Linked DNA regions of Homo sapiens: regions 1 and 2 are each linked to region 3. Evidence: promoter capture Hi-C in 16 types of primary human blood cells and fetal thymus (Javierre and others, 2016). All regions are on one chromosome and are shown on one strand. Each heading gives the region's core, a stretch centred on a gene start or on the middle of the fragment in contact. The rest is flanking DNA. Distances are from core to core; before and after follow the strand shown. Region 1 has its middle 14 kb from the start of GPR160. Region 2 has its middle 34 kb from the start of SEC62. Region 3 holds the start of ACTRT3 (actin related protein T3).

What was found. The method cuts DNA at HindIII sites, captures the fragments that hold promoters and counts their contacts. A CHiCAGO score of 5 or more calls a contact.
Region 1: a fragment that was not itself captured here is called in contact with the fragment with the promoter of ACTRT3 in region 3 in 4 of 17 cell types (non-activated CD4 T cells, activated CD4 T cells, total CD8 T cells and 1 more); the score reaches 9.4 in non-activated CD4 T cells.
Region 2: a fragment that was not itself captured here is called in contact with the fragment with the promoter of ACTRT3 in region 3 in 1 of 17 cell types (total B cells); the score reaches 5.7 in total B cells.

What each region holds. Positions count from the first base shown.
Region 1 is chr3:170,021,689-170,026,391 of GRCh38, forward strand. No RefSeq gene overlaps it. Among named protein-coding and RNA genes, the nearest start is that of GPR160, 14 kb to the right of the region's middle. The HindIII fragment of the contact is 9,800 bases long and covers 1-4,703 here.
Region 2 is chr3:169,998,421-170,003,247 of GRCh38, forward strand. No RefSeq gene overlaps it. Among named protein-coding and RNA genes, the nearest start is that of SEC62, 34 kb to the left of the region's middle. The HindIII fragment of the contact is 567 bases long and covers 1,799-2,365 here.
Region 3 is chr3:169,766,971-169,771,886 of GRCh38, forward strand. ACTRT3 (actin related protein T3) reads right to left here and starts at 2,591. Exons shown (of 2, transcript NM_032487.5): 1 at 2,351-2,591; 2 at 1-1,380. The coding sequence starts at 2,550. The coding sequence ends at 462. RefSeq lists enhancers at 1,314-1,458, 2,320-2,579, 2,671-2,815, cis regulatory regions at 1,386, 2,743 and a silencer at 2,660-2,729. The HindIII fragment of the contact is 4,942 bases long and covers 147-4,916 here.

The DNA.
Region 1 (4,703 bases), core at 1,910-4,409, 260 kb after region 3:
AAGCCAGCCTTCCCTCAGTTCCTTCAACATTCATGTTGCTTCTTTCGGTCCCTGCGGCCTTCAGGCTGCTTTCAATGCCCAGAAAGCCTGTTATCATCTTCTTTCACCCTGTTTGCTGGGCTTTAGCTGCTCATGTCTTTGCTATCACTTTGAATATCACCTTCTCAAGAGGCCCCCAGCTCAGGCTAGGTGTCCCCTTGCTCTCTTGGCACCTTCTGCTTCTCCTGAAATTATCAATACATAATTTTGTAGTTAATCATGTAAAGCTGCCGTCCCTGTTAAAAATTAGCTCTATGGCATAGGAACCATGTCTGTTTTGTACCCTGCTGAAGCACCCCGTGCACAGCTCCATACCTTCTGTATAGGAGGCACCTAATAAATATGTGTTGAATGACATCCCCAAGAAAGGTAAATACAAAAGCCACATGCATTTCACATTATAAATTGCTTATATACTTAGACCAGTGTCTTAAACCTGTTATAACCACAAGAAAAATGCCCAGGCCTTTAATTTTAGGTGTATTTTGTTACAGTCAATACGACTTTTTAAAAAGATTCTGAGCTGCATATTATGCTAGACACTGAAGGTTCAAAGATAAATAATACACTGCAAAATGATAAAAAACTACAACAAACTTAGTTTAAAGAGCTCAGTTGACTTTATGTGAGAGTCTGTAATTGGGCAACACTCCATTCCATAAAACAGAGTAAGTGTTCCGATAAGCTGAGCAGATGAGGTTGGCTTTATAGACAAAGAAGGACGGAAGAAAGCACAAGCAAAGAATGAAAATTGCATTGATCCTTTCAAAGCCACTTTTCTTGTAAGGTGGGGACAGGAAGACAGAATAATAGAAAAATAACTGATTAGTTAATATTAGGTTACTTCAGGCTACTTCTGTTGTACAAAGGTTAAAGCAGAGATTTAACCGGGCCTGTATGAGAAACTGGCTGTTATCTCTCCTGATTTCTCGGAAGGTCAGACAACAACCTAGTTTGGATTTGGTGATGTGGAACTTTATCAAAGTTAACTCCATTCTGATTTTTAGTCTGGTCTGTTGGAGCCTAGTGCAGAAACTTAGCCCAAAACAATAGCCCCCCGTAATTTTTATTTAACTACACAGATCCTGCCCTCAAGAGTTGCGTCTAGAGATAAAGACAGCCATTTAATGCTGTGATAATTGGTCATTTCTCATACTATATGTAGAAGGCAGAATATTTCATTAGCCAGGGAATCTGTAAAGTGTCAAACAACTAGAAATAAGCAAAAATTTGCCATAAAACAACAGCTAACATTTACTGGGTCCTTCTTTTTGGCCAAGTACGGTGAAAGCATTTTTCACATATGATTTCATTGAATTCTTACAACATCCTTTGAGACTTACCTTATGCTTCCTATTTTACAGATGGAAAAAGTCTACCAACACGTTGAAAATTTAGGTAACACTTTCTAAGTTACCCAGGAGTTGAAACCAGGGAGTCTGACCCCAAGGGTATACTCTTACCCTCTATGCTGGGGTTAACAAGCAATCTTCGAGTACTGCTGCAAGAAAAAAATAAAACAAAGGACACTTTTTAATTAATCACTGCTTCCCACTTCATGTCCTGGTTTCATAGTTATGTGTGTACACTTTCATAGGAAAATAGCAGATGTTGTGAAACCTGTTACTGATAAGGCTAGGTTCCTATGGGTCCAAGGCACTAACCATTGAATTTGGACTTTGTACCAAATATTTCCTATAGAGAGAAATAAGCTAGAAACTCTCAAGGTGTGAAGCTACTGCCTACCTTGAACCTAGCCTGTCTTCTTGGCCAGACTGAAAGCTCTGCATTCTTTTCTTCTTGTGCAGTACACCTTGTTGGCTTACCTCCTACAGATGGGATCTAGTCAAGAGGAAATTCATTATATTTTAAAACGGATAAATTGTTCAGATGAGTTACATGCTTGGAACTTAAACCATGGCAAAAAAAATTCTGTATTAATTATGCATATTTGGGAGTTTGCTTTTTAACTTTTAATTAAGGGAAATTTCCATCATATGCAAAAATAGACCATGTAATATAATCAACCCCCACGTACTCTTCACCCTGCTTCACACAGACACTTTTTCGTGGATCCATATTGCCTCCTCTGTCTTAACTAAGCCATTGCTGGATGAAAAGAAACCCTAGAGCAGCATTGTTTAATGTGAGCCAGATATGTAATTTTACCTTTTCTAGTCACCACATTTGAAAAGTAAGAAGAAACAAGTGAAATAAACTGTAACCGTACATTGTATTTAACCTAATATATTAAAAATATGATCATTCCAGTACTATCAATATAAAAGTTATTATCGAGATATTTTATATTTTTTCTTTTGTACTAAGTCTTTGAAATGCGGTGTACATTTTGCAATTACAGCATATTACAATCTGGACGGGCTTAATATTTTAAGGGCTTAGTAGCCATATGTGATATAAGTTAAATACACTAGTTTGTGATTAGTGGCTACCATATTGAACAGAACAGCCCTAAAGCGCCTAGGGTAAGAGAGTAAGGACTAAGCTCTGATTTTTCTCTTGTCCAAATTCCTATCTAAGGAGCCTGGGGAGTCATGCCCTACAAACCATAAATTCTCATCAGATGGGGTTTATTTAACCCTGTATATTGTGACTTACTTTCCAATCTGACTCTAGCATAACAAGAAAGAAAATCGAAATATTTTACCCCAAAACATGTTTCTCTGCCATATCTTGAAATGGCCCTGAAAAGCCATCCCTTATGGGAAAAATCCACATTCTATAGAGAATCCCCTTTCTACTTTGTTTTCCTTCCTTTTTTTCCAGATCCAGGAGATAATCAACTAAGAGCCAGGTACCCTTTTAGGTCCTATTCGAAACATTTTACAACCTGCTCTCTCTGCAGTCTGCTAAGTTGGTCTCCACAACCCTTTATCTTAACTTAAACATTTCTTTTCTGGTGATGCCAGGTCTTCAGATAAACTCAACCAACAGTCAACCAGAAAATGTTTAAATTTACCTACAGCCCGGAAGCAACCCCCGCCCCGCCCCACTTTGAGTTGTCCTGCTTTTCCAAACCAAACCAATGTGTTTCTTAAATGTTTTCTATTGATGTCTCATACTTCCCTAAAACATATAAAACCAGGCTGTACCCCCACCACCTTGGGCACATGTTCTCAGGACCTCCTGAGGGCTGTGTCACAGGCCATGGCCACTCATATTTGGCTCAGAATAAATCTCTTAGAATATTTTACAGAGTTTGACTCTTTTCATCGACAGGAGTAAACAGCTATTTTGCAATTTACCCGAAAATAATGCTACTAAAGACTTCTGGCAAAAGTTGAAGTACAGTGCATATATACTGGGCTTCTCCATGAAATCGCCAACAAAAGAAGACCAACAACAATAATTAAAAAGTTACTCGGGAGGCTGAGGCAGGAGAATCGCTTGAACCCAGGAGGCAGAGGTTGCAGTGAGCTGAGATCGCGCCACTGCACTCCAGCCTGGACGACAGAGCGAGACTCCGTCTCAAAAAAAAAAAAAAAAAAAAAAGTTAGACAAGTCCTTCTACAAAAAAGGACAACCTCCAAACCCCAGACTATGATGAAATGTGGCTCTCCAGATCTTGAGCAAGGTTATAGTGAGTAGAAAGTATGTTAGCATTTCCTGAGAGGTTACAACGTGGTAGAGTACAGTGGCTCTAGACACGCAATACCTGGTTCTGCTATTTACAAGCTGTGTGACTTGAGCAAGTTATTCAATTTCTCTGTGCCTCAGGTTCCTCGTCTATAAAAATGAGCATCATAAAGTCTGGGATAGTTTTAAGGACTGAATGAGGAATACATGTAAAAACATGCATGGCCCATGTTAACCTTCCATAAATGATCACCATTCAAAACAAAAAAAAACCAAACCCAACAGCAACACAACTGTGGGGAGACCAAAAGGAAAATGAGAACTGAGGATGAGGAAGGTGGGGCTGATGATACAATTGAATTCATTAGTAATTTTTCTCTGTGCTCTGGATTCTAACTTAACAAAGGTGCTTGGAGACGGGAGTAAGAAGAGAGAAGAAATCAAAACCGGCTTTGCTGGTGCTGACCAGTCCATTAAGCAGAGTTAAACATAAAATCCCTAGACAAAATATCTCTTATCTAGGAATCTTTTTTTTTTTTTGAGACAGAGTTTCACTCTTGTTGCACAGGCCGGAGTACAATGGCACGATCTTGGCTCACTGCAGCCTCTGCTTCCTAGGTTCAAGCGATTCTCCTGCCTCAGCCTCCCAAGTAGCTGGGATTACAGACGTGAGCCACCATGCCCAGCTAATTTTTGTATTTTTAGTAGAAATGGGGTTTCACCATGTTGGCCAAGCTGGTCTCGAACTCCTGACCTCAAGCTCTCTACCCACCTTGGCCTCCCAAAGTGCTGGGATTACAGGCGTGAGCCACCACACCTGGCCTATTATCTAGGAATCTTTACAGTTGTCCACAACAACCTCCTACTTGGACAGCTTGCTCAACTGAAGGGAAATTGTCCTACTGAAAAAAAAAAAAAAAGACAACATAATTTGGGGAGAGTGTTCTAAGGCAGCATTTTCATTTTGAAGTTGTCAGCTACTCCAGCTCAATAAACTGACCCTCTCCAAACTGTTTTTCAACAAAAGAACAAAAGAACCAGATACAATTGTTTGCATGTAGATATGA
Region 2 (4,827 bases), core at 832-3,331, 230 kb after region 3:
TGCTCTGTCACTCAGGCTGGAGTACAGTGGTACAATCACGGCTCACTGCAGCCTTGACCTCCTGGGCTCAAGTGATCCTCCCACCTCAGCCTCCCAAGTAGCTGGGACTACAATTGCATGCTACCACACCCAGCTAATTTTATAATTTTCATAAAGATGGGGTCTCCCTACGTTGTCCATGTCGGCTTTGAACTCCTGGGCTCAAATGATCCTCTTGCCTTGGCCTCCCAAAGTTGTGGATTACAGATGTGACCTGCCATGTCCAGCCTGAAGCATCTTTTAAATGGGAGAAGCAAAACAGGATCTTACCAACACTAAGATTATCTTTCAGTCATTCAGCAAACATTTGTGGAGTGATTACTATGTGCTAAGCATTGTGCAATCACAAAACTCAAAAAGCTAGTTTAGTAAGAGAGACAAGTATTCATGCAAACAGTGGCAATGGTGTTGTGTAATGTCAAAAGTATCTGTGACGTGCTTATGAGATCACATAAGTGAATACCCAGCCCAGATTAGGAAGGTCAGGAAAGGCATCCCATAGAAGTATCATGAGCTAGATCTTGAAGAATGAGTGGGTATTAGCCAAGTAAAGACTAGGGGAATTTTGGGCCACTGCAGCAAGATGTGCAAAAATAAGACAGCAGAGTGAGCATGGCATCCCCTGAAACTGAAACTAGTTAAGGTGCAGCTGGAAAAGAGAAACGTTTAGAGAGGGATACAGGTGGCAAGTCATTGTTTGACCAGAATCCCTTCCTTTAGAAAATATTCCTTTCCCTTCTGTGGTGCTCCTCATTCCATTCCACGGTGACTGGCCTCAAGGATGAGCACTCAGTTCACACCAGGCCAATTGAAGTCTTCTCATTTACTCAGGGGTCTTGAATTCCAAGGACCATGTGGACCTGAAGAAACCAATGGCTATGCTGCCTTCACATGAATGGAGCCTGTCTAGAAATAGAACCAACATGAAAAAAACAGAACCAAGGGTGGATCAGGAAGACAAGGCCTTAATGCCATCTTTGAACTCCCAGATCTAGCCTGGCCTAAAGCCATCCCTGGGCTTTTCAGTTGCATGAGCCAACAGATTCATCATTTTTTCTCAGTTATTTTGAATGAGATTTCTGTCACTGGGAACTGAAAGATGACTGAGTTGCACACAGTAAGTATGAACAGTGACACTAAAATACCTTTGGAGCAGATTGACTCAAAGCAGGAGAGTGACACATTCAGATTTGCATCTTAGACTACACTAATCACATAGAAAATGGCATGGCAAGGAGCAAGGCTTAGATATTTTCTGGATACTTCCAGTATTTCTCAGATTTACACATTCTAACCACAACTCCCCTCTTGTTGTTAAAAACAATTTATTTTCTTATTACGGAAAAATCAGAAACTTATAAGCAAAAATAACCAGAAAACTCACAAACCTACTGTCTTAGTCCATTTTGTGTAGCTATAACAGAATACCACAGACTGGGTAATTTATAAAGAAAATAAACTGACAGGGCATGGTGGCTCATGCCTGTAATCCCACCACTTTGGGAGGCCAAGGCGGGTGGATCACCTGAGGTCAGGAGTTCGAGACCAGCCTGGCTAACATGGCAAAACCCCGACTCTACTGAAAATATAAAAATTAGCTGGGTGTGGTGGTGTGCACCTGTAGTCCCAGTTACTTGGGAGGCTGTGACAGGCGAATCGCTTGAACCCAGGAGGCAGAGGTTGCAGTGAGCTGAGATCACACCACTGCACTCCAGCCTGGGCAAGAGAGTGAGATTCTGTCTCAAGAAAAAAAAAAAGAAGCTTATTTGACTCATGAGTTTGGAGGCTGAGAAGTCCAAGAGCATGGCACTGGGATCTAGTGAGGGCTTTCATGCTGCATCCCATGGTGGAAGGCAGAAGGGCAAGACAAGATGAAAGCCAGTGAGCAAGAGGGGGCTGAACTGGCTTTTATAACAAGCCCACTCTCATGATAATAACAATGCATCTGTGAAGGCAGAGCCCTTATGGCCTAATCACCTCTTAAAGGTTCCACCTCTTAATATCATCACAATGGCAATTAAATTTCAGCATGAGTTTTGAGGGGGACATTGAAACCATAGCACCTACCTTCAGAGACAACTACTGTTAAAACTCATATATATCCTTCTATAGCTCTTATATGTGTAACATGTATGTCTCTGTTCACTGAGGTGAGGAGATAGTAAATAAATGGGATCATACCATGTATACTTTATATTAAGAGTATTCAGAAATTAACGATCTGGAAAAAGAACATGTTGTGTGGAACCAAAGACACCATTTTTTCAGAAGAACAAATTATTGACCAGCTTATGATTTTAAATTGTATTTCTGCTCACCAACTTCAAGCTTCAGATTGTGAAGTTATCCTTAGACTAAGTATATAGTAAATGCATGTTACAAAGTATTTCACATTACAGTGTTTTTAATGATCAACATTCGAGGGGATTAGAAGGAAGAATTTATTATTAACTTGCCATATCCTCAAATACATACACCTTTAACAATTATGGCACTTTGCACTGCAAAGAAAAAAATAAAGGGCAGTAACAAGTAAATTAGTACACAACAAGGCTCTTGAAAACAAGAGCAGTAACTGCAGAAACTGGTCTGTACTTACAGAGTCTGGACAATATCTGACAGACTGCACAGCTATAAAGAGTGGTTGGATACTATATAAAGCAAAGCAAGTTGCATCTCTATCCCATCTTTCTAGTTGCATATACTCCACAGGGTTCAATTACAAAATTGAAACCCTATTCTTAATAACTTTTTTTCTTATTGTCCTTTAATAAAAGAACCATCAGAATTCTCCACTTTTCAATCGCATATGCTGTCTTCTATCTCACCTTCCATCCCACCCCTAATTTAGTCTCCTTCCAAAGGACTGATTGCAAATTTCACTACTTAACAAACAACATATGCAGCCGGGCGTGGTGGCTCATACCTGTAATCCCAGCACTTTGGGAGGCCGAGGCAGGTGGATCATGAGGTCAGGAGATCAAGACCATCCTGGCCAACATGGTGAAACCCTGTCTCTACTAAAAATACAAAAATTAGCCGGGTGTAGAGGTGCACACCTGTAGTCCCAGCTAGTCGGGAGGCTGAGGCAGGAGAATTGCTTGAACCTAGGAGGCAGAGGCTGCAGTGAGCCGAGATCACACTACTACACTCGTCTGGGCGACAGAGCGAGACTCCGTCAAAAAAAGAAAACATATGCAAGATTCAGATGTCTCGTGCTTCCCTCTGCCTCCACCCAAAGTTTCTTATTAACAGTATTGGTGGGAGCATGACATGTTTGTTTGAACAGTTCCATCAATGCCAAGCCACGATTATACACGGATAATGTTCCTATAGAAGGGAACCAACTCCTGGAAAATGAGCTCGAATGTTCAGCCCCATTGCCACCTCACATTCTTTATTCCCCACCACACAGATTGAGAGGGATGCGGTGACCAGACAGAGGAATGCCATTGAGACTCCCAGCACAGACCGTAGACTGCTTTTCTCAGGAGGCAATGGCAGTTCTCTGCAATACTCAGAAGGCAAGTCACCTGAAGAATCTTAAAACTGGAGACCTGCTGCACAATCCTTTTCTTTCTTCATTCAGCCAACATTTACTGAGCCTCGACTATATGCTGAACAATAATATAAATGAGGAACCCACAGTCCCGGCTCAGAATCCGGGGAAGGAGCAAGGAAACCAGCGGCTGCCTGCACATGCACACGTTGCCGGAGGAGATCCATCTTCTGCCCTAAAAGCTACAATCTCCGCCATCGGAAAGCTTCCAGCCTGGTAGGGTTATGATAAGGCAAACAAACAAACAAACAGACACAAACAAAGTGCTGCAGGCTTTGAGAAAGAAGTTAGATGGTGAAGGATTGCGGAGGCAAAAAGAGGCGAGCGATCAGAGAGCTCTTACTCCACAAGGGAGGATTTTACAGCAGCCATCACTCCTTAGTCTCTGTTTCCTTTTTATCACCGACACAAATGCTTCTGAGAACTTGGAATACTGCCCACCAGGAGTTTACAAATCCAAGTGAAAACTAACCACTAACTGACGGAGTAGAAAGGAAAGGAACAGGCCGGGCGCGAAAGCTCATGCCCATAATCCCAGCACTTTGGGAGGCAGAGGCGTGCGGATCATCTGCTCTCAGGAGTTTGAGACCAGCCTGGCCAACATGGTGAAACTCCGTCTCTACTAAAAATACAAAAATCAGCCGGGCGTGGTGGTGGGAGCCTGTAATCCCAGCTACTCAGGAGGCTGAGGCAGGAGAATCGCTTGAACCCAGAAGGCAGAGGTTGCAGTGAGCTGAGATCGCGGCCACTGCACTCCATCCTGGGCAAAGGAGCGAGACTCTGTCTCAAAAAAAAAAAAAGGGAAAAAGAAAAAGGAACAAAAGAATAACTCCTTGGGCCTCTGGTATAGAGGCTTCCAGCACAAAGTCACAATATGTGGGACAATATCAAATAAGCATTCCATTTATCACTAAAATATCTTGTGTTTACCATAAAGTGAAACCTGCTTAAAATAAAATCCATCAGGATGCTCATTTTGTTCACCCTACCCCCACTTGCCACATTACAAAGAGGAAGCAACAAGACATTGTTCAATGCTGCTGAGAACAATTTCATTTCCTTCCTGTTCACTATCTTTTTTGATACAACATGTAATTATGGGAATTTTTAAGAATTTTCAACAAATGTCTTCTATAAAACTTAGTCCCTTCTGTAGCAACATACGATCCCCCTGCAAATCAAGGTAGCTAGGAATTGTGCAGTGAAAGAGAGTGGTTTGCTTTAATGTT
Region 3 (4,916 bases), core at 1,341-3,840:
ATTCTCATCTTTAGCAACTTGTTCATTTTAGTATGCTTGCCTGGATATCTGCGCTCCATCCCAATGCCACCCCTTCCATGATGGCATACCTCTGCTATGGAGTCTCGTTCCTCACCACAGCAACCTTCTTTCCCTAAACTTCAATAAGCTTAAATCTTATCACTCATTTGGCACATAGCATATTGTACCACAAATGCTCTCTTCCAAGGGAAATATAAGCTCACCAACGTCAAGTTATAGAAGAAACACTATGGGAAACATTATTTTAACTTGGTTCTACTCAATAGACATCTGTTCTTGAGCTTCACCATTATTATCCCCCAAACCCATTATAGAAATACAACAGAAATATTGGCATCCCAATAGGTGAAGTATTTTCTCTTCTCCCAGAAACATATAATATCCAAAGTTTTCTGTCACATATACTCAAAACATTTTCTTCCAACCATTTTATCTGTATTTCAGAAGCATCTTTGGTGTACTATGTTGGGTCCAACTTCTTTAAATTCTGCAGCAGTGATCCACATGTCCTGGAAGGCAGACAAGGATGCAAGAATAGAACCTCCCATCCACACTGATATTTTCCTTTCTGGAGGAGCTATAACTTGCACAGCGGTGTTGGCAGGAGCCACCTTTGCTATATCCTTAACTAACCGCTTGTCTAAACCAGGGAAAGAGGTTGATCCCCCGGCAAGGATAATATTGGAAAAGAAGGAATTCCTCAGGCCTGTATCACATTTCATTATGCTGCTGAAGCATATCTTATCAATGCCAGGGGCCTCAAGGTTCATATGACACGGAGAGAAGAGGGCCTCTGGACAAGAAAAGAGCTGGTCATGGAGCTGGATGACCTTCCCATCAGGTAGTTGGTAAACTTTCTCTAGACAATCGGGTTTCTTGGCCATTTCCTCTTCGTAGTTCATTGCCACATAACAAAAGCTCTCCTTGATGTCTTCAACAATCTTTCTGTCTGAAGCACTGAGCAACATGATACCATGGTTCTTCATTAGCACCATGAGGTAGTTGGTGAGGTCAAGGCCTGCCAGATCCAGTTGCTGCACACCATGAGGCAGACAGTAACCCTCAAAGATGGGCACACTCTGGGTAACCCCAGCACCTGAATTCAGCACAAGGCCAGTAGTGAAGCCAGCAGCAAAGAGAGCCAGCACAGCCTGGATGGACATATAGAAGGCAGGAACACCCAGATGCTCAAAAAACATTTCCGTGATCTGTTGCCGGTTGGCCAGTGGGTTCAGCGCTGGCTCAGTAATCAAGACTGGGCCATCACACGGCTTCAGCTTTAGGTTATAGTCATAGATATGCTTCCACATGATCTCCATGTCCTCCCATGAAGTAATGAGACCACGCTCCACTGGGTAACTGTAAGGAAAGCAATAAGATCAATGACAGCTTTTTATTTTTCTAGTTTCTATTGTCTTCGACCCTCAGTTAATTCCCCGCGTTTATTACCAATATCCCTTTATGGGCAATAACTGCCACAGCCTCTCACAGCAGGTAAGTGTCAGCCAAAAATAGCACAGCTACTTACCTCTGCAATTTTTTTTTTTTTTTTTGGAGACAGAGTCTCGCTCTGTCACCCAGGCTGGAGTGCAGTGGCGCGATCTCAGCTCACTGCAAGCTCCGCCTCCCGGGTTCACGCCATTCTCCTGCCTCAGTCTCCTGAGTAGCTGGGACTACAGGCGCGCGCCACCACGCCCGGCTAATTTTTTTGTATTTTTAGTAGAGACGGGGTTTCACCGTGTTAGCCACGATGGTCTCGAACTCCTGACCTCGTGATCCGCCCTGCTCGGCCTCCCAAAGTGCTAGGATTACAGGCGTGAGCCACCGCGCCCGGCCTACCTCTGCGATTTTTGTTGCTTTCCATTTTCTCTGTCCTTTGGAACCTTGTGACTTTTAAAAAATTGGGAAATGTCCACATTATAGTATAGTTTAAATGTCAATTGAAGAGAATAACCCAAGTGACAAAAGGGACCATGAGTTAATATTCTTAAATGAATTCGTTCGATAACTTTATACGTTTTAATACATTTGTATAGCCACAGAGAGCAAAATGTTCAGTTTTTAGATGTGTGGTACCCTTGGAGATTTGTGGCCCGTGCGTTTGTAGTAATTCCAGCTGGATGGGGCTTTCCAGCTCCCGGCTTTCTTATTCTTTCTGTCCCCATTGCGCACCTCCTTTGGGGTCCTTTCCTGCCCCCCGACAACACCCCCAGTCCCCCCACCCCCAGCCACCCCAGCCCCACCCCCCAACCTCCCCAGCCCCACCCTACCCCACCCCCACCCCACCCACCCTCCCCAGCCCCAGCAGCCTGCTGGGAGAAGGAGGTACCTGATGAACAGCGAGCTCCTCCAGTCCTGAGCTTGGTCGCCCACGCAGAGTTCTAGCCCGCCCTGGGCCGCGCGGCTCTGGCCCTTGGCGCGGCCGATAATGTTCGGGTAGATAAACTGGGGCTCCCGGCACCCAGCCACGCCCGCCTTGATCATTCCCGAGCCGTTGTCGATCACCACCGGTAGCTGGCAGTGGTTCATGCCGCCGCTGCTGCCGCCGCCTCCTGTCTCTGAGCCGCTCTAGCTACGGGCTCGGCCGGGGCCGAGTGCCTGGAACGCCGCGTCACAGAGGCCCCGGCACGGCCGGGTGAGGCCAGAGTCCTGGGGGCGCAGGCAGGGGGTCGGCAGGGCCCCAGGCGGAAGGACTCGCTGGACGCACCGTGCTCCTCATGTTACCGCCCGCTATTGCTTCTCGCAGGAATTGGGCCACCCCAACACCTGGAATCCCGGAATCCCAGTATCAGGAAAACCCGACTTTCGCATCAAAAGATTCAACTCTAACCCTTCACAAGTGCATTTCTCAAATACCCAGAAGAGCTATAACAGCAGTTTTATTTTCCAAAGCCACGGAATTCTGGTTAACTGGTGGCGGTTCCGGGGAGTTCTAGAATTCGCCCTTGAAACTGGGGAAAAATGAGACTTAAGAGGAGAAAGTTGTTGCAGGAAGGGAGGCAGTGTCTGCTTCTGAAATGTTAAACTTCTAAAATAAGGAGAAAAATGCTGGAATTTAAATGAGTTTTAAGTACGTTTATTATTGTTTCTGTACCTTGGGCAATGCTTTGTTGTGTTTCTTCCTGTGATTTCCAAGCAAAATGTACGCAATTAAAACAAAATAGTAGTTCCTAGCTTAAATATGTAAATAAATATAAATTTATATATATTTATATAAATATATATAAATTTAAATATAAAATATTAAAAAATATATAAATTTATATAATTTATATAAATATATGTTATATTATATAAATATATTTATATATTTATAAAATATATATTTATATATTTAAGCAAGGATATAAATCGAAATATATATATTTATATTTATTATATGTATAAATATAAATATATAAAAATTTATATTTATATTTATTATATGTATAAATATAAATATATAAAAATTTATATTTATATATCATAAATATAAATATATAAAAATTTATATTTATATATCATAAATATAAATATATAAAAATTTATATTTATATATCATAAATATAAATATATAAAAATTTATATTTATATATCATAAATATATAAAAATTTATATTTATATATCATAAATATATAAAAATTTATATTTATATATCATATATAAAAATTTATATTTATATATCATATATAAAAATTTATATTTAGATATCATATATAAAAATTTATATTTAGATATCATATATAAAAATTTATATTTAGATATCATATATAAAAATTTATATTTAGATATCATATATAAAAATTTATATTTAGATATCATATATAAAAATTTATATTTAGATATCATAAATAAAAATTTATATTTAGATATCATAAATAAAAATTTATATTTAGATATCATAAATAAAAATTTATATTTAGATATCATAAATAAAAATTTATATTTAGATATCATAAATAAAAATTTATATTTATATATCATAAATATATAAAAATTTATATTTATATATCATAAATATATAAAAATTTATATTTATATATCATAAATATATAAAAATTTATATTTATATATCATAAATATATAAAAATTTATATTTATATATCATAAATATATAAAAATTTATATTTATATATCATAAATATATAAAAATTTATATTTATATATCATAAATATATAAAAAATTATATTTATATATCATAAATATATAAAAAATTATATTTATATATCATAAATATATAAAAAATTATATTTATATATCATAAATATATAAAAAATTATATTTATATATCATAAATATATAAAAAATTATGTTTATATATAATAAATATATAAAAAATTATGTTTATATATAATAAATATAAAAATTTGTTTATATATAATAAATATAAAAATTTATGTTTATATATAATAAATATATAAAAATTTATGTTTATATATAATAAATATATAAAAATTTGTTTATATATAATAAATATATAAAAATTTATGTTTATATATAATAAATATATAAAAATTTATGTTTATATATAATAAATATATAAAAATTTATATTTATATATAATAAATATAAATATATATATTTCGATTTCTATCCTTCTGGTGTAATCTGCAAGCCTCATTCGCTACTCTTGATTTTTAGGCTGAAGGACGTGCCTGTCTTTTTGCAGGAAAAGTGAAGTTTATCAGGTCATATGAAATTCAAGTTTGGAAAAATTTGAAAGTACATTGCATGTCAATAAACGCATCTTGGTGTCTGATTCTGCATACATCTGTAGAGAATTTGAAAACAAGCAGTCAATTTAGAACTTCTGCTTGGTCTTCGGAAGCAAAAAGAGGAAATTCAAAAGTAATTTTACACGTCCTTCCACCAGAAGCTGAAAGGATGGCTTTTTCGCGGCTGAATAACGAAAGC